7 separate regions of the Homo sapiens genome follow, and regions 1, 2, 3, 4, 6 and 7 are each linked to region 5. Evidence: promoter capture Hi-C in 16 types of primary human blood cells and fetal thymus (Javierre and others, 2016). All regions are on one chromosome and are shown on one strand. The core of a region is centred on a gene start or on the middle of the fragment in contact, and the rest is flanking DNA. Distances in the headings are between cores, read along the strand shown. Region 1 overlaps GRM1 (glutamate metabotropic receptor 1). Region 2 overlaps ADGB (androglobin). Region 3 overlaps ADGB (androglobin). Region 4 overlaps ADGB (androglobin). Region 5 holds the start of RAB32 (RAB32, member RAS oncogene family). Region 6 overlaps ADGB (androglobin). Region 7 overlaps ADGB (androglobin).

Region 1 (3,061 bases), core at 74-2,573, 200 kb after region 5:
TTAATACAGAGACCAAATTTTTGCATAGCTCTTTATATAGATGCTTTGTTCATCACTGCATAGAGGAGGTTAAAAATCAACAGGCAAAACTAATTTGGAAAGAAGCTCACCACTAAAAGTCAGTATTATAGATTCTAAAACCCTCAGACCAACACCGCCACAATAAACTATTAACTGATTCCCTAAGGTTTTGTCTGAGTTCCCAGACTGTTACATGGTCATTTCTTCTGACATAGTCATTGTTCATGCACTTAAAAAGTTTCAAGTGCACCTTCTCTTCTAGGGGTAAATACACAAAAAAGGTTAACTTAAGACTCTAATTAAATGAGTGGCCCTTGAGGCAGGCATACAGTCATGGTTGTTAATATTAGTTTAGAGCCCAAATAATGATAACAAACTTTAAAGAAGCTCTAAGGTGCCACAAGGAATTGTCTCAGAGAAGCAGCGCCCATGCCTATAAGGCTTCTCGTTAAGACTGGCTGCACCGTTGGGGTTAGGTCTTTGCAAAGTGACCTTGCACAAGCTTACCAAAACACACTCATCAGAAATGTGATTGAGGAACATACGGAGTTTAGCATCTCTGGGCCAATGTTTCTGTTGACTGTGGAACTTTCTTAGTGCTTTGGGGAACTTTGCTTTCTAGAGAGTCATGTGTTATTCCCTTTTCGGATGATGTCTTCATCGTGGGATTCAGTCCTACCAAAATACTAATTGGGCAACATATCAAGATTCTCCCTGATGGTTTCTAGTTATTTTGAGATGAGAATATATGAGACAAACACAAACGTGGTCAGGTGCTTATTTGTCTACACTTATTCCATGTTCATTTTTATGCCAAAAGTATATTATTTTATAATATTACAAGAAAAACATCTTCAACTAGAGCTTGGAATTTAGATGAAATAGGAGTGGTCCCTCTACCGCTTCGCTGTATGTATTTGATTCTCAAAACTGCATAAACAAGGAGCCAATTCTAGAGAGAGGGAGGGAGACAGAAATCTTAACATACTGCTAACCACTTGGTTTTTCTAACCAAAACCAAGAAAACAGGAAAAATAGACCATAGTTAGTCATACCTAACCAAGGCTAGATTGAAGGAATGAGCAATGGATACCTTTAACTCAACATAAAGGAAGAATCTAGACTGAGGTACTAGATTTACACCAAAGCCTGTGTTAGTTGAGGGCAGTCCTGGTTCTGGGTACAAAATGCAGTGGTAGTACAGCAGAACTCTCTCACCATGTGTGTGCATGCATGTGGGTTTGCACATGCTTTGGGTTAAATACTAGAATGTGTGCATTCAGAGGACCCTACTATTTTGGGGCCTGTTGTTTTGTAGCATCCTCCAACTGAACTGAACACAGAAAGAGGCAACCTTCTCAATAAGAGGACATGCTAAGCTACGAGTGAGGTTAGAAATGTGGCTTTGGGGCAGGGCGCGGTGGCTCACGCCTGCAATCCCAGCACTTTGGGAGGCTGAGGCAGGCAGATCACGAGGTCAGGAGTTCAAGACCAGCCTGGCCAACATACTGAAACCCTGTCTCTAATAAATATACAAAAATTAGCTGGGTGTAGTGGTGCATGCCTGTAGTCCCAGCTGCTTGGGAGGCTGAGGCAGGAGAATCGCTTGAACCCGGGAGGTGGAGGTTGCAGTGAGCTGATATCATACCACTGCACTCCAGCTTGGGCAACAGAGTGAGACTTTGTCTCAAAAAAAACAAAAAACAAAAAAAAGAAATATGGCTTTGGTCCCATGCTCTGATTTCTCTCATCCAAGTACTAACCATGCCTGACTCTGTCTAGCTTCTGAGATCAGACGAGATCGGGAGCATTCAGGGTGGTATGGCCCTTGCACTAATTTCTTACACAGCTAGAAACAAAAACAAAAATGCAGCAGCAGAGATTACCCTTCAACAAGGGACAAGAAAGTCATTGCAGAGACTAGTTTGCTGAAAAATGGGCACTAGTACCAAGATAGGTGTATTAATTCTGTATATGCTCAGAAATAGTTAAGAAAGAAAAACCAGGGAAAAGATTGATCAGCATGATACTGCCACACTAATTAAATATGACAGATTCTTCTATGGGCTAGGTCAACAGGAAAACCATTAACAGAAGCTTCTCTAAGTACATACCTGGCATTGATTTTTCAGTAGTGCCCCCTGAAAGCTCACAGAATCTAAAGTGAAGGCAGAAATGATTTCCTTATGCCTCAACGACTGCTGAGTCATAGTCACCAGGTACGTCTGCAACTGCTAATGTAAACTGAAACAGCATACAAAATTCCTTGGTGGATTGTTTTCAAACTGTGTTCATTAAGGAGGAAAAGCCTATTTTGTGTGCCAAGGGATGTTGCAGTTTAATGGGTTTCCATGGTCCCTGGCTTCCCACAGTGGAATGTTATGGTGGTACAAGTTACAGAAGCCCAACGTAGCTTATGATGTTAAGGGAAAGGATAGCTGAGGGCTAGCGTGCTGCCAGAAATCCAGCACAGCACTTCCCCTATTCCTGCCACCAATTTGCAAAACCTTCTTTGTATTGTCAGAGTAGACTCTGTGATATCAGCGCACTTTGCTTATTTTCATGCAGTAATAAGTTATTTAGACAATTGTCTTTCATATTATCTCAATTATTCTTATAGTGAATGACTGATAACTCAGCAATAGGATGATGATCTAACTGAAGCATGATTATTATTGATGGTGACTACAATACATTTAAGAATATTCAAAAGAAAACCTGATATGATGACTATAAGCTATCACTCAAGATTATTGAATAAAAGCTGTAATATAAATGAGGTGTCTATTTAGTATATTAGTCAAATTCAGAGCTCTTAATGTCTGTGGAAATAAAATGAGTGTGTATAAATGGAAAAAATGAAAGGGAAAAGTTCAGATTATTATTTTAGTCTGAAACTATGAGATGTTCTTCAAGTCCCTTAAACATAGAGCAAAAATTATGTTCCATGTTAAGGTTGTGAATTGAGTTTGGGTGGAAGGGAATTGTTGAATGCTCATGTCCATTCAGTTATTTGATGGGATGAAAATGTCAGCACCTG
Region 2 (2,955 bases), core at 138-2,637, 170 kb before region 5:
CTTAAAATTCTGCTCAATATGTGGTTTGTTAATTACTTTAATCCACAATTTTTAAATTGAGTTCCTACCTCATGGCAGGAATGTTCTTATAAGTGGTAAACAAAAAGATACAGCTCTTCTAAAGATGCTAACAGTAAGTAGGGGGAAGAATGGGCACAGGGAAGCAATCAGAAAGTTGGGAGGGTGGGAGGCAAATGCCAGGCAAACATAGAGCATACAGAGGACATGAAGCTGAGCCTTTTTTTTTTTTTTTTTTTTTGAGATGGAATCTCACTCTGTTGCCCAGGCTGGAGTGCAGTGGCGCAATCTCGGCTCACTGCAACCTCTGCCTCCCAGGTTCAAGCGATTCTCCTGCCTCAGCCTCCTGAGTAGCTGAGATTACAGGCGCATGCCACCACACCTGGCTAATTTTTGTATTTTTAGCAGAGATGGGGTTTCACCATGTTGGTCAGGCTGGTGAAGCTGAGACTCTTAACCCAGATTCCATGGCCAGGGAAGGGAAGCCTCACAGTGTCAAGGGCATCTGTGCTATTCTGAAGGATTTCTAGGCATTAGCTGAACAACAGCAATGAGGATAACAGGGATGAAAGGACAGAAACTCCTGGCAGAGGGATGATACGGGGGAAAAAATGCAGGCATAATGGTGGAGTGTCCTTATGTTTTAGGAAACATACACTATTCAATAAATACTAATTGAAACCAAATCTAGTGAATTTATTTGTGCATGTCCTTCATTTTTTCATAATTCAAATTTTTCTTAATGTGAATTTGTATAATAATTCAGGCCAGGATTCAACATAGTCAGATGGATCACATTTGTGGTTATGAGCTAGTGGAATTTTGCTTATTGCTTGGATAAGGATTAGTGAGAGACTCTAAAAATTAATTTTTAAAAATATAACTATGTTACAAGTTTAGAAATGTTTTGAGAAATTTGAAGATGTTTTCTACGGGTGCAATTCTACCAAAAATTTAAAGAGAATAGAAAAGATTCTAACATACTTACCTTAAATTCTGATTTTTGAAAGTTAAGGCAATATGAACTTGGCTTGTGGAAAATATATATATTTCTGAAAGAAAGACATTTTTAACAGGTTATTGTCATTATAGGCAAAGACTAGTACTACATGTTAAGTTTCTTATAATCAAATTATTGTAGGAAGAAAGTTAAAAAATAACAACAGTATTGGGTCAGTTGCCCTAAAGGGACAAGAATGATTCTAGTGAATAAGATTTCTTCATTTTAATTAAGAAACAAGCCTTTGAGGAAAAGCTGCAACTGGCCTAAGATTGGTTTGGCTATTAATGTGTTATATGGATAATCAATATATTTATTTTCCATTTTATAAATTTTATTTGATATTATACCAACACTAGGCTGTTATTGGCTTATTTTGGATGATGCTAAGAATTAATAGGTTATATAACCACTATATTAAATATGCAAAAATAAATCTTAATGTGACTTTGTATACTAATGCAGCTCAGGGTTTAACCACTACGACATAGTCAGATTGATCCCATTGGTATACTTACTGAAAGCATACACAGAAATCTTCAAAATCTAACCATATTTCTTTAGAAACACTATTATTTGTTGTTGGAAGTTCTTCCTGTGACTTTTCCTGTGTTGCTGTGGTCTGGCTGACTATCTCTCTTTCCAAGTTTAATCCATCACTCTGATGAGCATCACCCAATCCAAAGTCTGTTTGTTCATCTGTGCCTAGAAGACACACATGTCAAACACATCTTATATTGTTAAATAACAAGTTATTGAAATATGTAAAATGATAAAGGGAAACTTAAATATCAAAGTCTATTTTTGGGAAAATATTTATGAGATAATCCAGGCTTCATACATTTATGGAGGTCCACACAGGGACACATTTCATACACAAAGGAGAATTTAATCACAATTTCTATGCATATCAGGGTGTTCAAAAATTTCAGAATTACTTTGACGAATTTGTTCACAGATTCTTTTTTTTTTTTTTTTTTTTTTTTTTGAGACGGAGTCTCGCTCTGTCGCCCAGGTGGGACTGCGGACTGCAGTGGCGCAATCTCGGCTCACTGCAAGCTCCGCTTCCCGGGTTCACGCCATTCTCCTGCCTCAGCCTCCCGAGTAGCTGGGACTACAGGCGCCCGCCACCGCGCCCGGCTAATTTTTTTTGTATTTTTAGTAGAGACGGGGTTTCACCTTGTTAGCCAGGATGGTCTCGATCTCCTGACCTCATGATCCACCCGCCTCGGCCTCCCAAAGTGCTGGGATTACAGGCGTGAGCCACCGCGCCCGGCCCTCACAGATTCTTTAGAGATTGTGAAGTTACAACACAAATTAGCTAGATTCTTTACTGAAAATCTGCTCTAGATGGACATATTCTTATAGGAGGGGGTGGCTCAGACAACAGAAAGGGAAATGAAAACTTGAAAGATCTGGTGCAACAAATGTGTTTCAGTAACACATTTAATCACTCCCCACAGTCAGTGGTTCTAGAGCCTTATTTTATATTTACCAAGTAATGTGGCATACCATTTTTTTTTTTTTTTTTTTGAGACGGAGTCCAGGCTGGAGTGCAGTGGCACGATCTTGGCTCACTGCAACCTCTGACTCCCTGGTTCAAGAGATTCTCCTGCCTCAGCCTCCCAAGTAGCTGGGATTACAGGCACACACCACCATGCCCTGCTAATTTTTATATTTTTAGTAGAGACAGGGTTTCACCATGTTGGCCAGGATGGTCTCGATCTACTGACTTCGTGATCTGCCCGCCTCAGCCTCCCAAAGTGCTGAGATTACATGCGTGAGCCACTGCACCTGGCCGGCATAGCATTCTTAAAGACTTCTGGATCCAAAAATATATATATAATTTTGAATTCAATTCTTGGCCAAGTCTTTTATTTAGGAACTAAGGAATTTGCAGTGGTTTTAGTGTTTCGATCACAGGGTGCAGCATTAAA
Region 3 (3,039 bases), core at 32-2,531, 150 kb before region 5:
ACATTGTCTACTCCTTTTAGGAACATAATTTGAGCAGCTTTGACATCTCACCAAAGCAGTAAAACAAACAATGTGAAAGAGAAAAGTGAGGGCATTTTTCAATAGTATCTTTGTTTTACATATAATATTTTCATATCACTTTATTTTTACAGTCAGAGTTTTCATTGATTAATTAATACATTTTTCCTCACAAAAACAGTGCCCTTTCTAGTTAATCCTCTGTGTCCCCTCAATACTTTATTTAAATATCCTTGGAATAAGGGGGCTCATTTAATTTATTTTTTTAAGTTTTATGATGCTAAAGAACATTTGAAGTAGGCCTTATTTCAACCAATTCAAAATTTATCTTAAAATAAGTATTTCTGGCTGGGCACTGTGGCTCACACCTGTAATCCCAGCACTTTGGGAGGCCAAGGTGGGTGGATCACCTGAGGTCAGGAGATAGAGACCAGCCTGGCCAACATGGTGAAACCCCATCTCTACAAAAAATACAAAAATTAGCCGGGTGTGGTGGCACACACCTGCAATCCCAGCTACTTGGGAGGCTGATGCAGGAGAATCACTTGAACCTGGAAGGCAGAGGTTGCAGTGAGCCAAGATTGCTCCACTGCACTCTAGCCTGGGCAGCAGAGCAGACTCCATCTCGGGAAAAAAAAAAAAAAGTATTTCTTACTATAAAAGGGAACTTAAGAAATATTGCTTTTGTATAATCACTGCAATGACACAAATTTTAGTATATTTGTCATGAAAGCATACATTTTTATTTATTAAATAAAATTGATTTAAAAGGTTGAAGTTGAAATGCTTTAACTATTAGGACAATTACATTCAACTGGTCTTCTCAATAGGGCAAAGAAAATGCCACTTAGTTATGTTGCATTATATGAATGAATGAGCTTTTCATTTTAATCTATGAATAGTAATATGGGTTAAAATAATAAAAACTAAAAATAATATAATACTGTTATAGTAAAATGCTACAATTATGGACAGGTCACTTGTTCATTCCTTTTAATATTTAGAAGAAACTTATGCAATGATGAAAATGTTCACTTAGAACATTTGACTACTGAGAACTTAAAATGTTGCTAATGCAACTAAGGAAATTAATTTTTAATTTTATATAATATTAATTAACTTAAAAAATTTTACATAGCCCCATGTGCCTAGTGCCTACCATACAGGAAAGAACATAATTTTAAATACTGAATAACTTAGGTGCTTCAAAATATTTTAATATTTTAATCAATTCAATTAATATTTACTTAATACCTATGATTTACTTAATGCCTATGATTTCCAAGTTACTATGTTAAATATCCAATTGTTACAGTGTAGATACAAAGCCCATATGCTAACTGTTAATGTCTTTATTATAAGTATATACAAAGCAACGTTAACTAATTCTAAAAATTTGGTGATGTTACTCATTACACCCAGAAAATTACAAACAAATTTGGAGAAGGGAAGGCTATTGGAAGCAGACAATATTAAGAACTGATAAAGACATCATTAGTACTATGAAAGCAAAATTAAAACTACAACTAAGCCAATCACTGAAACAAAGCCCCGGAAAAGCCAGTAGTCTCAGGTCATTGAATGTTAGGGTCATTGTTCCTCAAAGTCCTTGAGGTCCCTCTGTTAGAAGACAGTATAGTAATAATGCTAAGTATGATTCATCCAGGAAGCAAGGAAGGCTTTGAGTATGCTCTACTTAAGAAGGAAAGACATTATTTAATATATTAATAATGTGTATATTACAAGTGGTTAATTTAGCCCAAATTTTGACTAAATTAATGACACTGTTGATAACATTGCATTGCATTTCTATTATATTGCAGTATCAGTTAGGACTGCTTGTGTCCAAGTGACAGAAGGCTAATTCATAGTAGCTTTAATAAGAATAGAAATTCCACTGGCTTTTGTAACTGAAATGTCCAGTGGGACTGGAAAATAACTTACACAGTATTTTTTTACACATCTAGAAACCTAATAATAAGAGAATGGAGTGGTGCATATATAATTGTTGTCAAATATTTGAAGATTTTTCATGTAGATAGGGAGCTAAAAAAGCTGCAATGTATTATTTTAGGAGTTTTATATATTATTCATTTTAGGGGAAGAACTGGATGAATTTACAAAACACATCAACAGAACACACTACTTGCTAGATGAAGGGGAAGGAAGGTGCTATGGTCTGAAGGTGTGTATATACTTCTGCCATCAAATTTATATGTTGAGATCCTAAACCCTGAAATAATGGTATTAAGAGGTGAGGCCTTTGGGAGGTGACTCAACCTGCATGCATGGCATTAGTGTCCTTGTAAAAGGTACCCCAGAGAGCTCATTCACCCCTTCCACTAGGTGAGTACACAGTGGTAAGATGCCATGCATGAGGAAGCAGACCCTTGCCAGAAATTGACTCTGCTGGCGTGCAGTTCTTGGACTTCCCAGCCTCTAGAAGTATGAGAGATAAATTTTTTGTTATTTACAAGCCACAAGTCTATGGTATTTTGTTATAGCAGCCCAAACAGGCTAAGACAGAACATGAATGCTAGCAAGTGGGATTGCTGCTATGGTAACTACCTAAAATGTGGAAGCAGCTTTGGAACTGGGTAATAAAGGCTGGAAGAGTTTGGAGGTACATGCTAAAGAAAGCCTACATTGCCATGAACGGACCTTTAAAGATGATTCTGGAAAGGGCCCAAAAAGGAAAGAAGAGAGCTATAGAGAAAGCCTCAATCTTCTTAGAAAATATATACGTGTCTGTGAACTAAATTCTGGTAGAAATATGGATAGTAAAGGCCATTTTGATGAGGTCTCAAATGGAAATTAGGAACATGTTATTGGGCCATGGAGGAAAAGCCACCCTTGTTAGGCAAAGACTTTGGCTGATTTTCTGTGTTCCAGTGTTTTGCGGAAGGTAGAACTTGTGAGCAGTGAAATTAAATATTGGATTGAGGAAATTTCTAAGCAAAGTGTTGAAAGTGCGGCGTGGCTTCTCTTGACTCCTTATAGTAAAATGCTAGAAAAAAGAAA
Region 4 (3,386 bases), core at 253-2,752, 220 kb before region 5:
CCTTGTTAATTATTAGTTTCTATTTTATTGCATTAAGTTCAGATAACATACTATATGATAGGGATAGTTTGGATTTTATTGAGGCTTCCATTTATTGTCTATTACATGATATTTTAAAAAAATCTCATGTGTGCCAAAAAAGTATATTCTCTGTTTATTGGGTAAAGTGTTCCATATAGATATCTAAATGATTAAGCTTATATTTAGATTTTTTTTTCAAATTCTCACAATTCTATTTACTTAGTTTTTCAGCTTGAACTGTCAGTTTCCACGAGGCATGGGTTAAAAATCTTCAATTATTCATGATTTACTTATCTTTTTATCTCTGTAGTTCTAATAGTTATTGCTTTTTATTTATTGTGTCTAGATAATTAGGTGCCTATATGTTAGTTATGGCCATGTCTACTTGATTTATTCTACCTTTTATTTTTATATAATGTTTCTATATGTATTAAAACTATCATCAGGCCAGGCACGGTGGCTCGCACCTGTAATCCCAGCTCTTTGGGAGGCCACGGCAGGTGGATCATGAGGTCAGGCATTCAAGACCAGCCTGGCCAACATGGTGAAACCCTGTCTCTACTAAAAATACAGAAAATTAGTCAGGTGTGGTGGCAGGCACCTGAAATCCCAGTTACTCAGGAGGCTGAGGCAGGAGAATCGCTTGAACCCAGGAGGCAGAGGTTGCAGTGAGCCGAGATCACGCCATTGCACTCCAGCCTGGGCAACAGTGCAAAACTCCATCTCAAAAAACAAACAAACAAACAAAACACTATCATCACAGCTCTCTCTTGGTTCATATTTGCCAGGTATGTTTTTCTAACATTCTATCATGAAACTTTCTACAGCAGTTTGTTTAAAATAGTTAGATCTTATTTTTATATAACTTTAAAATTTTAGCATTTTAGTTGATTAATTTGATCTATTTGGATTTATTGTAATTTCTGTGATATTAACATTTATTTCTGGCATTTTCTTTTCTATTCCTTTAATTTAATTTAAACTTATTTTACTTTTTGGTTTCCAATGGCTAGGTCATACCTTTGTCTGCTGTTTTATAAATATGTACATTATCTTTTTTCCCTTTAATTGTAAGCACATACAAATTAAGTTTTATTAATATATGACCTTTAATATGTGACATTTATTAATATGTGACCCACAAAGTTATATAGCTTCTTATAACCCAACTATAAAATTAGATAATTACAGGTACATTATAGAGTTCATGTACATATTAAATTTGCCAAGATGTATTCATGTACATATTAAATACATCTCTGTGCCAAGATGTATTTAAAGATCTTGGCACAGAGAAACTGTTCAAGACTCTCTTATTCTCCAATTCTGGCTATACATTGGCAGCACTGCACACTGTATATTGACTATTTTTAGGGAAATGATTGTTTTGTTTTATGTTAGGGTTTTAGGAACAGTCCAATTGAACAATTGTTTTTAATATACCTGCAGTGGTGTGCTGGAACTGTCTTCTCTAGTGGGTGTACTGGTAGTTTCCTCCTCCACAAGGGGTAGACCAATGTCTTGTATTGCACTTACAGCTCTACCCTTGGGGGATTTCTGAATTCCCTGAGCAGCTTTCTTCTTAACATACACTTCTTGCTCTTTCTTGGATGCAGAGTGAAATGAAAGAATGTGCTTGCTAGCTGAATAGGAGAAATACTAAGTTAAAGTTAAAATATGTGATATACATAGTTATTACTGACTAAATCAGTTACATTCCTTTATAAAACACTCAAAGGAATAGGTCAATTCTTTTGTTTTAGTGAGATAAAAAACAGTGTTTTTGGTTTATTGTTCTTAAGGAAATCTATTATAATAGTATGTGACATGCACAGAGCAATGTATATTCTGAGTAACCACTTATTTCTAAAAGTATATACAACAGTTCAACAATTTCTCATTTATTTTGTGCCACTTGAATGACCCTAAGCTAACGCCAGACACTGATTTTCTGTGTTTAATGCCACATATGTATGTTATCACACTTATAAAAGACTTTCTCTTTAATTTTCAATTTTTAATTATTTTCTAATTAACAGATCATATAAGTACTGCTGATAGGTTTAAAAATGGAAATGTGGTGAAGAATTTTTATTTTCAATTATTTTCTAATTAACAGATCATATAAGTACTGCTGATAGGTTTAAAAATGGAAATATGTTGAATGTTATTAATTAATTCATCAAACATGTATTGAAAAAACATAAGTGACTGACACAGGGATATTCTAATTCCAGCCATGACATTGGGCTTATTCTCGTACCACAAAAAATGATAAAAATGGACAAAACGTATAAAGCAACTATTTTTAGCCACCGGAAAATATACAGCCCAGGATTGTGATCCTTGAGACAAGGGAAACATACAAAGTGACCTCTTGATTTCCAGAGATTTCTGCCTGCAAGCACCTTCCCAACTGTATACAGGGAAGTACAGCCCAAAGTAGTGAACAGCAGTGCTGCTAGGTTTAGGAAACAAAGATGGGTGAGTGGGGCTCCTGCAACAAGTAAAATTTGAGGTAGGATACCAGAAGGGAGTATATGAGCAGTTAAGGAGCTCAGAAATAGACATGGTGTCCACTTGAGTCTTTAGCTGAATTCTAAACTTCATTTGTGCAAACACTCAACAATACCAGGCAGACAATAACTACTGGGGGGCTGTGAGCTTAATGAAGATTCTGGTAGTTCCACAGTGTTGAGAGACATTGAAATTCTGACTTGTCAAAATGAAGGGAATTCAGTGAATATGCAGAGCATTCAGTTGAGACCCAAGAAAGGCCAAGCTTTAAGAGTAGAGCTACCCTAACACTAGAGTCATGGCAACTCTAGAACTGACTTACTAAGCTCAGGACCAGGATCAAGCTGCCAATAAATTAACTGCCCGCCAGAACAAGATTCAACACTCTTTCAATTAAAAGAGCATAATCTAGACTCTTAGCAGTGTAGCACGCACAATATACAGCACACAATCAATTTGATAGATGAAGAAGCAGAAAATGTGACCATAACTTGAGAAAATAGTCAATAGAAATAGATATGAAGCTGATAAAAATGTTGGACTCATCAAACAAGGACTTTAAAATAGCTATTTAAAATGTGCTTAAGGATTTATGGAAAAAGATGAACATACTGAGTGAACAAATGGTGAGTATCACAGAAAAATGAAATATATGAAGAATCAAAATGAAATTCCAGATCTGACTATATCTGAAATAAAAAATATCTGGATAGACTTGAACAACATTTTGTCAAATTCAGAAGAAAAGATTAGTAAACTTGAATACAAGCAATAGAAATGATTGAAATAGAACCACAGAGTGAAAAAACTTCAAAAGAGGATAAGTGATTCATGGTACGATATTGTGG
Region 5 (3,074 bases), core at 302-2,801:
GGTGTCCTCTAACCCTAAACCAGCTCCCATTCTAATGCTGTACTGCAGACTGTGCTTCTTAACACCTGTAATGATTGAACAGAGTAATTTTCGTACTTTTTTTTTTTTTTTCTGAGATAGGGTCTCACTCTGTTGACCAGGCTGGAGTACAGCAGTGAGAACACAGCTCACTGAAGCCTTGACCTCTCCTAGGGTCAAGTGATCCTCCTGCCTCAGGCTCCTGAGTAGCTGGGACTACAGGCACGCACGACCACACTTGTCTAATTTTTTGTATGTATGTATGTATATATGTATGTATGTATTTTGTAGAGACAGGGTCTCACTAACAGCCCAGGCTGGTCTCGAACTCCTGTGCTCATGCGATCCTCCAGTCTAGGCCTTCCAAAGTGCTGGGATTACAGGCGTGAGCCACTGGCACTTGGCTTGGTACCATTTCTATGAACTTTCCAATAGTTAACATCATCTTTAAAACGCCCACTCCCAACCACCACACCAGGCAAAGTTCAAGTGTTCATAAATCAGAGCAGAGGGAAATGTACCCCCTCAAACAGAACAAATGAAAGCAAATGGCAGAGAAACACTGTATTGAGGAGTGGGGGGGGGGCGGGGGGGGGCGAGGGCACCAGGGATGGGACTAGGTGTTGGTTTAGCAAGAGAGGAAGGGGTGAGTGTAAGGTTTCAGAAAAGCTTTCCCAAATCTTCACGGAGTGTCTGTCCTCGGCTTCCGATGAGAGCAAAGTATTTGAGGAATGGAGTTTCCCTCACAAAGGCCAGTCTCAGAGCCAAGGCGGGTGGTGGAAAATGATCTGGAAAGGAACCTGGCTTTTGGTCTTGGTGGTGTCACTAACTAGGAGTGCAGCTTCGGGTTAAGTCACCCAATCCCTCTGAACTTGAGTTGAGGCTGAGAGGCGCCGGCCCGCTCCAAAGCAGCCTTCTCAACTAGTCCTGGTGTATGTATGATATACTTGCATTATTCAGAGTTCAAACTTCTGGAAAAGGCCCCCTGGCCTCCTCGCCTCCCTTCAGGAGAGCGAGCTCTGGCGTGCAGGACCTGCTCCAACTCCTACTGCCCATCCCATCCTCTGGGCCCCACCGAGTCCAGCCGACCGCGTCCATCGCATCTCGCCCTTGGATTGGGCCTCTCTCTTCTCCTAAAGGTACCCAGGCAGACGAGTTCAGGCAGAAAAGAAAAAGAAAAGAAGCAGAGAGGAGCCAGGCGGCCCGGCGGGGCTCTGGAGTGGGAAACTCGCGGCCGCGCTTACCCGCGATGTCCCACAGCTGCAGGCGCACCAGAGTCCTGCTGTCCCAGTTGAGGACCTTGAGGGCGAAGTCCACCCCGATGGTGGCCCGGTAGTGCTGGGAGAAGAGCTGGTGGACGTAGCGCTTGATGATGCTGGTCTTGCCCACGCCAAGCTCGCCGATCACCAGCACCTTGAAGAGGTGCTCGCGGGTCTCGGGCGCTGGGGCGGCGGCCGCCCCCAGGCCGGGGTCCCCGGCTCCTCCGCCCGCCATGAGCGCTGCGGCTGTCGGGCGCGCCTCGACTCCGAGTCTGGCCCCCTGCCCGGCCTCGCGCTCTGCCGCCGCGCCCCCGGCGGCCGCGGAAACTCCCCCGAGGCCGGCCAGCCCTCCGCCGCGCCCGCTGACGCCGCCTGACCGGTCACAGGACCCAGAACCCGCCAGTGCTCGCGGCCCGGGCGGGGCCAGACGAGGGCAGGGCCGGACGAGGGCAGGGCCTGGCGCCGGCTTGGGGAGGACCCTGCGCGAGGCGGCTCCCGCCCTGCGCCTCTGAAGCCCGGCCGGGCCCAACTGGACTTCCTCTCCCGGGCGGCGCCTCCGAAGCCCGGCCGGGCCCAGCTGGACTTCCTCTCCCGGGCGGCGCCTCCTGGCGGTCGCGGCGCGGAGGGAGGCCCAGACGCCCGCTGGTGGGCCTCCGGGGAGCCGGCCTGGAGCCTTTATGGGCCCCGGAGGTTCACTGGGGGCCTGAGGAGGCGCCGAGGTCGCTGAGCCCCCCCCGGGGCCGGGGTCGGCGTGGGGTCCGGGCCCAGCCTGGAAGCCTCTGGCCTGGAAATCCACCTCCTGCCCTACTCTCCCCGCAGGGAGAGCCACACTTGCGGGCCTTGGCTTGGGTCGCGAGCAGTCCCCTTTAGATGGGAAAGGAAGTGGCACCGTGACTTTGAACTTAACGAAGGACGGATAACACTGGGCTGGTAGTTCTGTTTTTAACTTTTTGAGTGAACCTCCGTAGGGTTTTCCATAATGGCTGTTCCAGTCCGCATTCCCACCACCAGTGTACAAGGTTCCCTTTGCTCCGCACATCACCGACACTTATTATCGCTTATCTTTTTTATAACAGTCATCCTAGCAGGTGTGAGGAGATACCTAGTGGCTTTTCCCTGTTCATTAGTGATTTTGAGCGCCTTTTCTTATACCTGTTGGCAATTTGTACTTCCTCTGGAAAAAAAAAAAAAGTCCATTCACATCCTTTGCCCGTTAGTTAACTGGGTGTTTTATTTATTTATTTTGGCTGAGTTCTGTGAACGTAATGTATTTTGGATATTAACCCCTTATCAGATATATGGCTCACAAATATTTTCTCCCAATCTATAGGCTGTTTTTTCATTTTGTTGATTATTTCCTATGCGGTGCAGAAGCATTTTAGTTGGATGAAGTCCCATTTATCTAGGTTTGCTTTGGTTGCCTGGGCTTTTGGTGTGATATTGCAAAAATCGTTGCTAAAGCCAGTGACCCAGCTATCCCTCTTCTGGGTGTATACTCAAAGGAAATGAAATCAGGATCTCAGAAATCGCTCTCAAGTTCATGCAGCATTATTCACAGTTGCGAAGATTTGGAAACAACCAAAGTGTCTGTTAACGATGAATGGATAAAGAAATTGTAATACATACATAGGCATGCACGCGCGCATATACACAGACGCACACACACACACAATGGAATATCATTCAGCCTTTAGAAGGCGATCCTGACATTTGCAACAACATGGATAAACCTGGAGGACATTATGCTAAGCGAAATAAGCCAGACACAAAAAGAAAGATACTGTGCAATATCACTTA
Region 6 (2,950 bases), core at 22-2,521, 190 kb before region 5:
ATCAAGAGTTATTCAATAAATATATGTTGAGTGAAAAAAATGCAAACACCATTTAAAAAACATTTTGAATAGTTGAACACAAACTCTATGAAGTACATTACTAAATTGCCCATATTTTCAGTCTCTAAAAAGGGAAGTAAAATCATTATATGTAAATTTTTACAACATATATGGACAATAAAAGCATATTTTACCATATGCATGGTTTGAATATATTTCCCTAACTTTATGTGTTAGAAACTTAATTCCCAAAGTAACAGCATTGAGAAGTGGAACCTTTAAGAGGTGATTAGCTCATGAGGGCTATGCCCTTATGAATGAATTAATGTGATTATCGAAAGAGTGTGTTAGTTATCTCAGAAGTGGCTTCCTGATAAAAAGATGAGTTCTGGCTCTCTCTATCCCTCCTTTATCTCTCTCTCTCTCTTTCATGAATGTGCTCTCTCGCCCTGCCACCTTCCTCATGGGATAAAGGCTCTGTCCAGATGCAAACCCCTTGATTTTGGATTTTCCAGCCTTCAGAACTGTAAGAAATACATCTCTGTTCTTTATAAATAACCCAGTCTTTGGTATTCCATTATAGCAGCACAAAATGAAGCAAGACATCCTATATTGAGTTTGACGAATGCATATGTTTTGTAATGAGGAAAAAACCCATTGAATTAGACAACTATCATTAAACTATGTAATTTAGGGTTTTTAAACCATTGTGTATCTGACGTTTTTACTGCTTAAACATTTTAAATATTATCATTAAATGTTTTAAATAGATTCTTTTTTTTTTACAAGAAAGTTTTTCAATATATGTAAAGAATTCTATTGGAGGTAAGGCTTCTCCTATCAAAATGTCAGCAAAAACCACAGAATGAAAATAATTGAATATATATTTTTTGTTTTTTGTTTTTTTGAGACAAGATCTCACCCTGTCGCCCAGGCTAGAGTGCAGTGGTGTGATCTTGGCTCAGGCTCGCTGCAACCACCACCTCCTGGGTTCAAGTAATCCTCCCACCTCTGCCTTCCAAGTAGCTGGGACTACAGGCACATGCCACCATGCCTGGCTAATTTTTATATTTTTTGTAGAGACATGGTTTCCCCATGTTGCCCAGGCTGGTGTTGAACTCCAGAGCTCAAGCAATCTGCCCCCCTCAGCCTCCCAAAGTGCTTGAATATAAGTTTTGCATCTGCCATGTTTTATTTTAAGCTGATAAAACTGGCCTATTGGCAAAAAGATTTTATTTCATATACATAGATGTATCTGATTTAATAAATTTAAGAACACACTTAACATGCATTTTATGCCTTCTAGATGTGTGTCACTATGGACATACATAGTGGCTTCTTTATTATGCATTAGTTTATTCATTCACTTAATTATTCACTCATTTGTTTGAAAAATCATCTGGAAATGTGAAAATATCTATGACTTAGCTGAGGCTGACTGAGGTAGCACAGGTGCTAGCTACTTGGGATATATACAGAAAAAGACCAGTTCCCTGTTTTAAAAGAACTTGCAATAGATTGGGAAAACAAAGCTGATAATGCATTCATTTTTTCACTCATTCTTTCAGCAAGTATTTATTGTGTGCTTATGATGCACCAGGCACTGTGCCAATCCTGGGAACAAGACACTTGGTGCATTGGACATGCTTCCTGATTTCAAATAATTTCATTATTTAGAGGACTGAAATTAATTAGCCATAAAGTGGGGGACTCCAAAATACTTTCATTAACACACATAAATATTTATTCTTATACAAACAAGTTCATTTTATAAATGTTTGGACAATCATACCTGGTATTCTGGCTTTCATAAGCAATCTAACGTAAGTTCCTCTCCACATGGCTTGAATTTTAATTGCTGCTGCTACTTCCTCAGCAGAATACTCTTTATCACTTGTGGGCATACAATATTTAACGTCCAGCCATTCCACTGGAAAGGGAAAAACAAACTTTGGACTGAAAGTTATATTTAATCCCTTCCCTAAGTTTCAACGCCTTCAGCTGCCAAAGCCCTCCAACATATAAAATTCTACATTGCAAGAGTTAGCATCATATTTAATATTGCCGGCTCTAGGTGGTTCTTGTTAGAATGTAAATATTCTGCAGGAGGGAAAACACACAAAATAGGGACATATTGGTGAACTACTATTGATTCCTGTGTGAATATAGCCAGAGATTTTTCTCAAAAATAAAAGACATGTTAAAATGATGAGAGCAGAGCATGGGAAGAAGAGAGAAAAGTAGGGTTACTTGAGTCAGAGGATCTTGCCAGAATTCTTCAAATCAAACCATATAGATTAGTGACTTCCATATTTTTAAGGTTAGGAGTAAATAAAACAGGGAAATTCTCCCCTGTAAGACACTCCCCTAGAAGTATATGTGGTGGGGATTAGGGGTAGGGGATCCCCAGCAGGTCCTTGGAGCCCCTTGAGCTCTTAGAGCACTGCTTGAACTCCATGACAGTCCACACAGACTTATTCCACTTACTCCACAAACACATTTCTTAAATTATTTACCTTACTTAAAACTAGGAATTCCTTGATTAAATATATACAATTCATGGGTACCTAAAGAAACCTCTTCCAAGGAGGAATTGAGTAACTCCAAGTCCAAAACCATAGCCCGGAATGCAAATTTGAAGTTTGGAGGAGGTTTTGTTATTTGAACTTTTTTCATTAAACGCCATAAGGAAAGATGAAAAACCTGAAACACATAAATTTTTTTTATAGCAAGAAAATACCATCATCTGGCCAGAGAAGCTCTAAAAAATTTTTAGATACTCTAAAAATAAAAAATAAAAACCATTTCTCAGATGTACACGCAACCTAACAGAAGATTCTTTGAAGTCTCACCTGCCCAGTAAGAGACCAAAATTATCATTTGATTATTTCTAATTTAACAAAATGTAATCACTACAACGTTTATAATATAGACTCAATGAAAATACAGC
Region 7 (3,048 bases), core at 420-2,919, 250 kb before region 5:
ACATGCCTGTAGTCTCAGCTACTTAGGAAGCTGAGGTGGAGAACTGCTTGAGCCCAGGAGGTTGAGGCTGCAATGAGCTGTTATTGTGCCACTGAACTCCAGTTCGGGTGACTGAGCAAGGCCCTGTCTCAAAATAAAAACTAAACTGAAAACAAATGGAACAGAACACACAATGGGAAAGGGAAATCTCTTCAATAAACGGTGTTTGGAAAACCTGATATTCACATACAAAAGAAATAAAATGGACCCTTATATAAGAATCAGCTTAGGCCAGGGTGGCTCATGCCTGTAAACCCAGAACTTTAGGAGGCTGAGGCTGGAGGATTCCTTGAGCCCATAAATTTGAGACTAGCCTGGGCAACATAGTGAGACCTCATCTCTATAAAAAATAAAATATTCACCAGAAATGGTGGCATGCGCTTATAGTCTCAGCTACTCAGGAGACTGAGGTGGGCAGATCACTTGAGTCTGGGAGGTTGAGGCTGCAGCGAGCCATGATTGAGCCACTATACTCCAACCTTTCTAAAAATAAAACAAAAACCAAAAATGATCAACTAAAAATAGATTAAAAACTTAAACATAAGTCCAGAAAGTATAAAACTACTAGAAGAAAAACAGGAGAAACAGCCCATGATATCAGTGTGGGCAATATTTTCTTTGAATATGATCCTAAGAGCACAGAAACAAAAGTAAAAATAGACAAGTGGGACTGTACCAAACTAAAAACCTTTGCTGTGCAAATGAAACAATGAAAAGTGATGAGTCAACCATGGGTTGAGATAAAATATTTGCAAACCATACATTGGATAAGAGGCTAATATTCAATACATACAAGGAACTTAAGCTACTCAATAATAAGAAAGCAAATAACTACATTAAAAAATGGGTAAAGAACCTGAATAGATATTACTCAAAAGAAGAGACACAAATGACCCACACATATATAAAAAGATGATTAACATCTCCAGTCATCAGAAAAATGCACGTTAAAACCACAATGAGATACTACCTCATACCTGTTACATTGGCTATTATAAAAAAAGATGAGAGATAACAAGCATTGGTGAGAGTGTGAATAAAAGGGAACTCAGGTACACTTTGGTGGTACTGGGAATTATTACAAGCCATTTGAAACACCAGTATGGAGGTTATTCAAGAAACTAAAAGTAGAATTACCACATGATCCAGCAATCCTGCCTGTGGGTATATATCCAAAGGAATTAAAATAAGTACGTAAAAGAGGTGTCTGTACTTGTATGTGCATTACGTTATTCACAACAGCCAATATGTTGAAAGGACCAAAGTACGCATCAGTAGAGGAATGGATTTTTTAAAATGTGGTATGTAGACACAATGGAATGCTCTTCAGCCTTTAACAAACAGAAAATTCTGTCATTTGCCACATTATGGACAAACCTGGAGGACAAGATGCTAAGTAAAAAAGCCAGCCACAGAGAGACAAATGCGGCATGATCTCATTTATATGTGGAATCTAAAAATGTTGAACTTGTAGATATAGATATTAGGATGGTGGTTACCAGAGGCTGGGGGGTCATAGTGTAGTGGACAAGGAAAGGGAAAATGTTGGTCAAAGGGTATAGTTAGTTTCAGTTAGCTAGCAGGAATAGGTTCTGGTGTTCTATTGCATAGCTTGGTGAACACAGCTAACAATTTATTGGATGTTTCAAAATAGCTCAAAGAGTGGATATTAAATGATCTCACTCCAAGGAAATAATAAGTATTTGAGGTAATGAATATATTTATTAGCCTAATTTGATCATTCCATAACCTATACATGTATCAAAACATCCCATTGTACCCCATAAATATATATAATTATTTGTTAATTAAAAATGAAATTTCAAAAAGGATTACTTTGTTAGCACATAAGTAAATAATTTGATATCAGAATTTAAGTTGCATTGTTTTGGCTACATTTTTCTATTTTATAGATCTTTAAATTAACTAAGGATGAGGAAAAGTTTGTGTTCAGTTCAAGATCACAATATATGGAGACCAAAGAGCTGGGTGTAAGTCCAGGTTCTAGCCAAACTGCATCAGTTTCCTGCCCTTGGGTGAGTTATTTGCCAATTCTGTCATTTTAGAAGTGGAGATAGCAATATATGCTTTCTCTAATTCCTGGAATCTCAAGTGAGATAAGAGTGGAAAAATTACTCTACAAATTAAATATTAATGGTAAATGAAATGTGTTCTAATGAGTTTTACTGCTACCATCATGTGAGCTATTACCTATTGAATGGGCATGTACTTTCAAAATATTGGTTAAAAAATATCAGAATCTCTTGTTAGTATAGTAAAAGATTCCTTTTAATTTTAGAATTTTCCTCTCAGTATGGAAATCACTTAAGGACATACTTTAGCTTTAAACACTTCTTAATTTAAAAATTCTCAGAATTGTTTAGCAATTTTGAGAAAAGAACCATTGTTGGCTTTTCTGAGAATGCTTCTTTCTAAGATTTCTTTCTTTGCTGTCTGGGTTCAAAACAAGTAGAAAAATAGAGTAAGATTATACTATTGATCCAGGTTTAATCGGAGGATGTAGCTTGATGTGAGAGACAAATGGGCCATGATCACCTGAAGCTGACTGACTGTTCCAGCACAGTCTAGGTAGTGCTCACACCTGAGAGAGAAGCAGTGCTTCCATGGGCAGCCTCATTCATTCTCTCCAAATGCATTAATAGGACATTTAGTTCCCTTTAAGACAGAAGGAGTTGAGGAGTTGCTTAGGAATTCATGGAAACCAGGAGTGTGGAAAGGCATTTTCCTTTGATCAGGGTTTTAGTTCAGTTTAGTGAACAGATATGAATCCATATAGAAATGAATCAGGTCAGGGTGACTTGTGCACCACTGAAAATTGCTCTTTTTCAACATTTAAAAAATGACATTCTTAAAATTTGCTATGAAAGGTAAAAAGGAAATCTATCTTGTAGCATACTACAGATAACACAAAAAAATCTGTGTTTAACGAGAAGTGTATGTGTGAATGCTGACATTTTATTTCTAGCATTTGTAGACACAGAAAACCTA

What was found. The method cuts DNA at HindIII sites, captures the fragments that hold promoters and counts their contacts. A CHiCAGO score of 5 or more calls a contact.
Region 1: a fragment that was not itself captured here is called in contact with the fragment with the promoter of RAB32 in region 5 in 1 of 17 cell types (M1 macrophages); the score reaches 5.1 in M1 macrophages.
Region 2: a fragment that was not itself captured here is called in contact with the fragment with the promoter of RAB32 in region 5 in 2 of 17 cell types (neutrophils and monocytes); the score reaches 7.2 in neutrophils.
Region 3: a contact is called between a fragment that was not itself captured here and the fragment with the promoter of RAB32 in region 5, in 7 of 17 cell types (monocytes, megakaryocytes, neutrophils and 4 more). The highest score is 17.3, in monocytes.
Region 4: a fragment that was not itself captured here is called in contact with the fragment with the promoter of RAB32 in region 5 in 1 of 17 cell types (megakaryocytes); the score reaches 5.8 in megakaryocytes.
Region 6: a fragment that was not itself captured here is called in contact with the fragment with the promoter of RAB32 in region 5 in 2 of 17 cell types (neutrophils and megakaryocytes); the score reaches 6.4 in neutrophils.
Region 7: a fragment that was not itself captured here is called in contact with the fragment with the promoter of RAB32 in region 5 in 1 of 17 cell types (fetal thymus); the score reaches 5.1 in fetal thymus.

The regions. Positions count from the first base shown.
Region 1 is chr6:146,339,213-146,342,273 of GRCh38, reverse strand. All of the region lies in intron 3 of GRM1 (glutamate metabotropic receptor 1), which reads right to left. It also overlaps the pseudogene RNA5SP222. Among named protein-coding and RNA genes, the nearest start is that of RAB32, 200 kb to the left of the region's middle. The HindIII fragment of the contact is 1,595 bases long and covers 526-2,120 here.
Region 2 is chr6:146,715,651-146,718,605 of GRCh38, reverse strand. It overlaps ADGB (androglobin), which reads right to left. Exons shown (of 36, transcript NM_024694.4): 15 at 1,537-1,723; 16 at 1,007-1,070. Among named protein-coding and RNA genes, the nearest start is that of ADGB, 120 kb to the right of the region's middle. The HindIII fragment of the contact is 4,096 bases long and covers 1-2,955 here.
Region 3 is chr6:146,693,701-146,696,739 of GRCh38, reverse strand. The region is part of intron 12 of ADGB (androglobin); the gene reads right to left. Among named protein-coding and RNA genes, the nearest start is that of ADGB, 96 kb to the right of the region's middle. The HindIII fragment of the contact is 5,580 bases long and covers 1-3,039 here.
Region 4 is chr6:146,762,179-146,765,564 of GRCh38, reverse strand. It overlaps ADGB (androglobin), which reads right to left. Exons shown (of 36, transcript NM_024694.4): 28 at 1,465-1,664. All of the region lies in intron 1 of LOC105378040 (a long non-coding RNA gene), which reads left to right. Among named protein-coding and RNA genes, the nearest start is that of ADGB, 160 kb to the right of the region's middle. The HindIII fragment of the contact is 2,607 bases long and covers 199-2,805 here.
Region 5 is chr6:146,542,310-146,545,383 of GRCh38, reverse strand. It overlaps RAB32 (RAB32, member RAS oncogene family), which reads right to left and starts at 1,551. Exons shown (of 3, transcript NM_006834.5): 1 at 1,263-1,551. The coding sequence starts at 1,512. RefSeq lists a silencer at 1,598-1,977. The HindIII fragment of the contact is 5,944 bases long and covers 690-3,074 here.
Region 6 is chr6:146,732,873-146,735,822 of GRCh38, reverse strand. It overlaps ADGB (androglobin), which reads right to left. Exons shown (of 36, transcript NM_024694.4): 21 at 2,568-2,703; 22 at 1,793-1,930. It overlaps LOC105378040 (a long non-coding RNA gene), which reads left to right. Exons shown (of 4, transcript XR_943093.2): 3 at 475-526. Among named protein-coding and RNA genes, the nearest start is that of ADGB, 140 kb to the right of the region's middle. The HindIII fragment of the contact is 3,821 bases long and covers 1-2,950 here.
Region 7 is chr6:146,788,859-146,791,906 of GRCh38, reverse strand. The region is part of intron 33 of ADGB (androglobin); the gene reads right to left. Among named protein-coding and RNA genes, the nearest start is that of ADGB, 190 kb to the right of the region's middle. The HindIII fragment of the contact is 5,555 bases long and covers 1-3,048 here.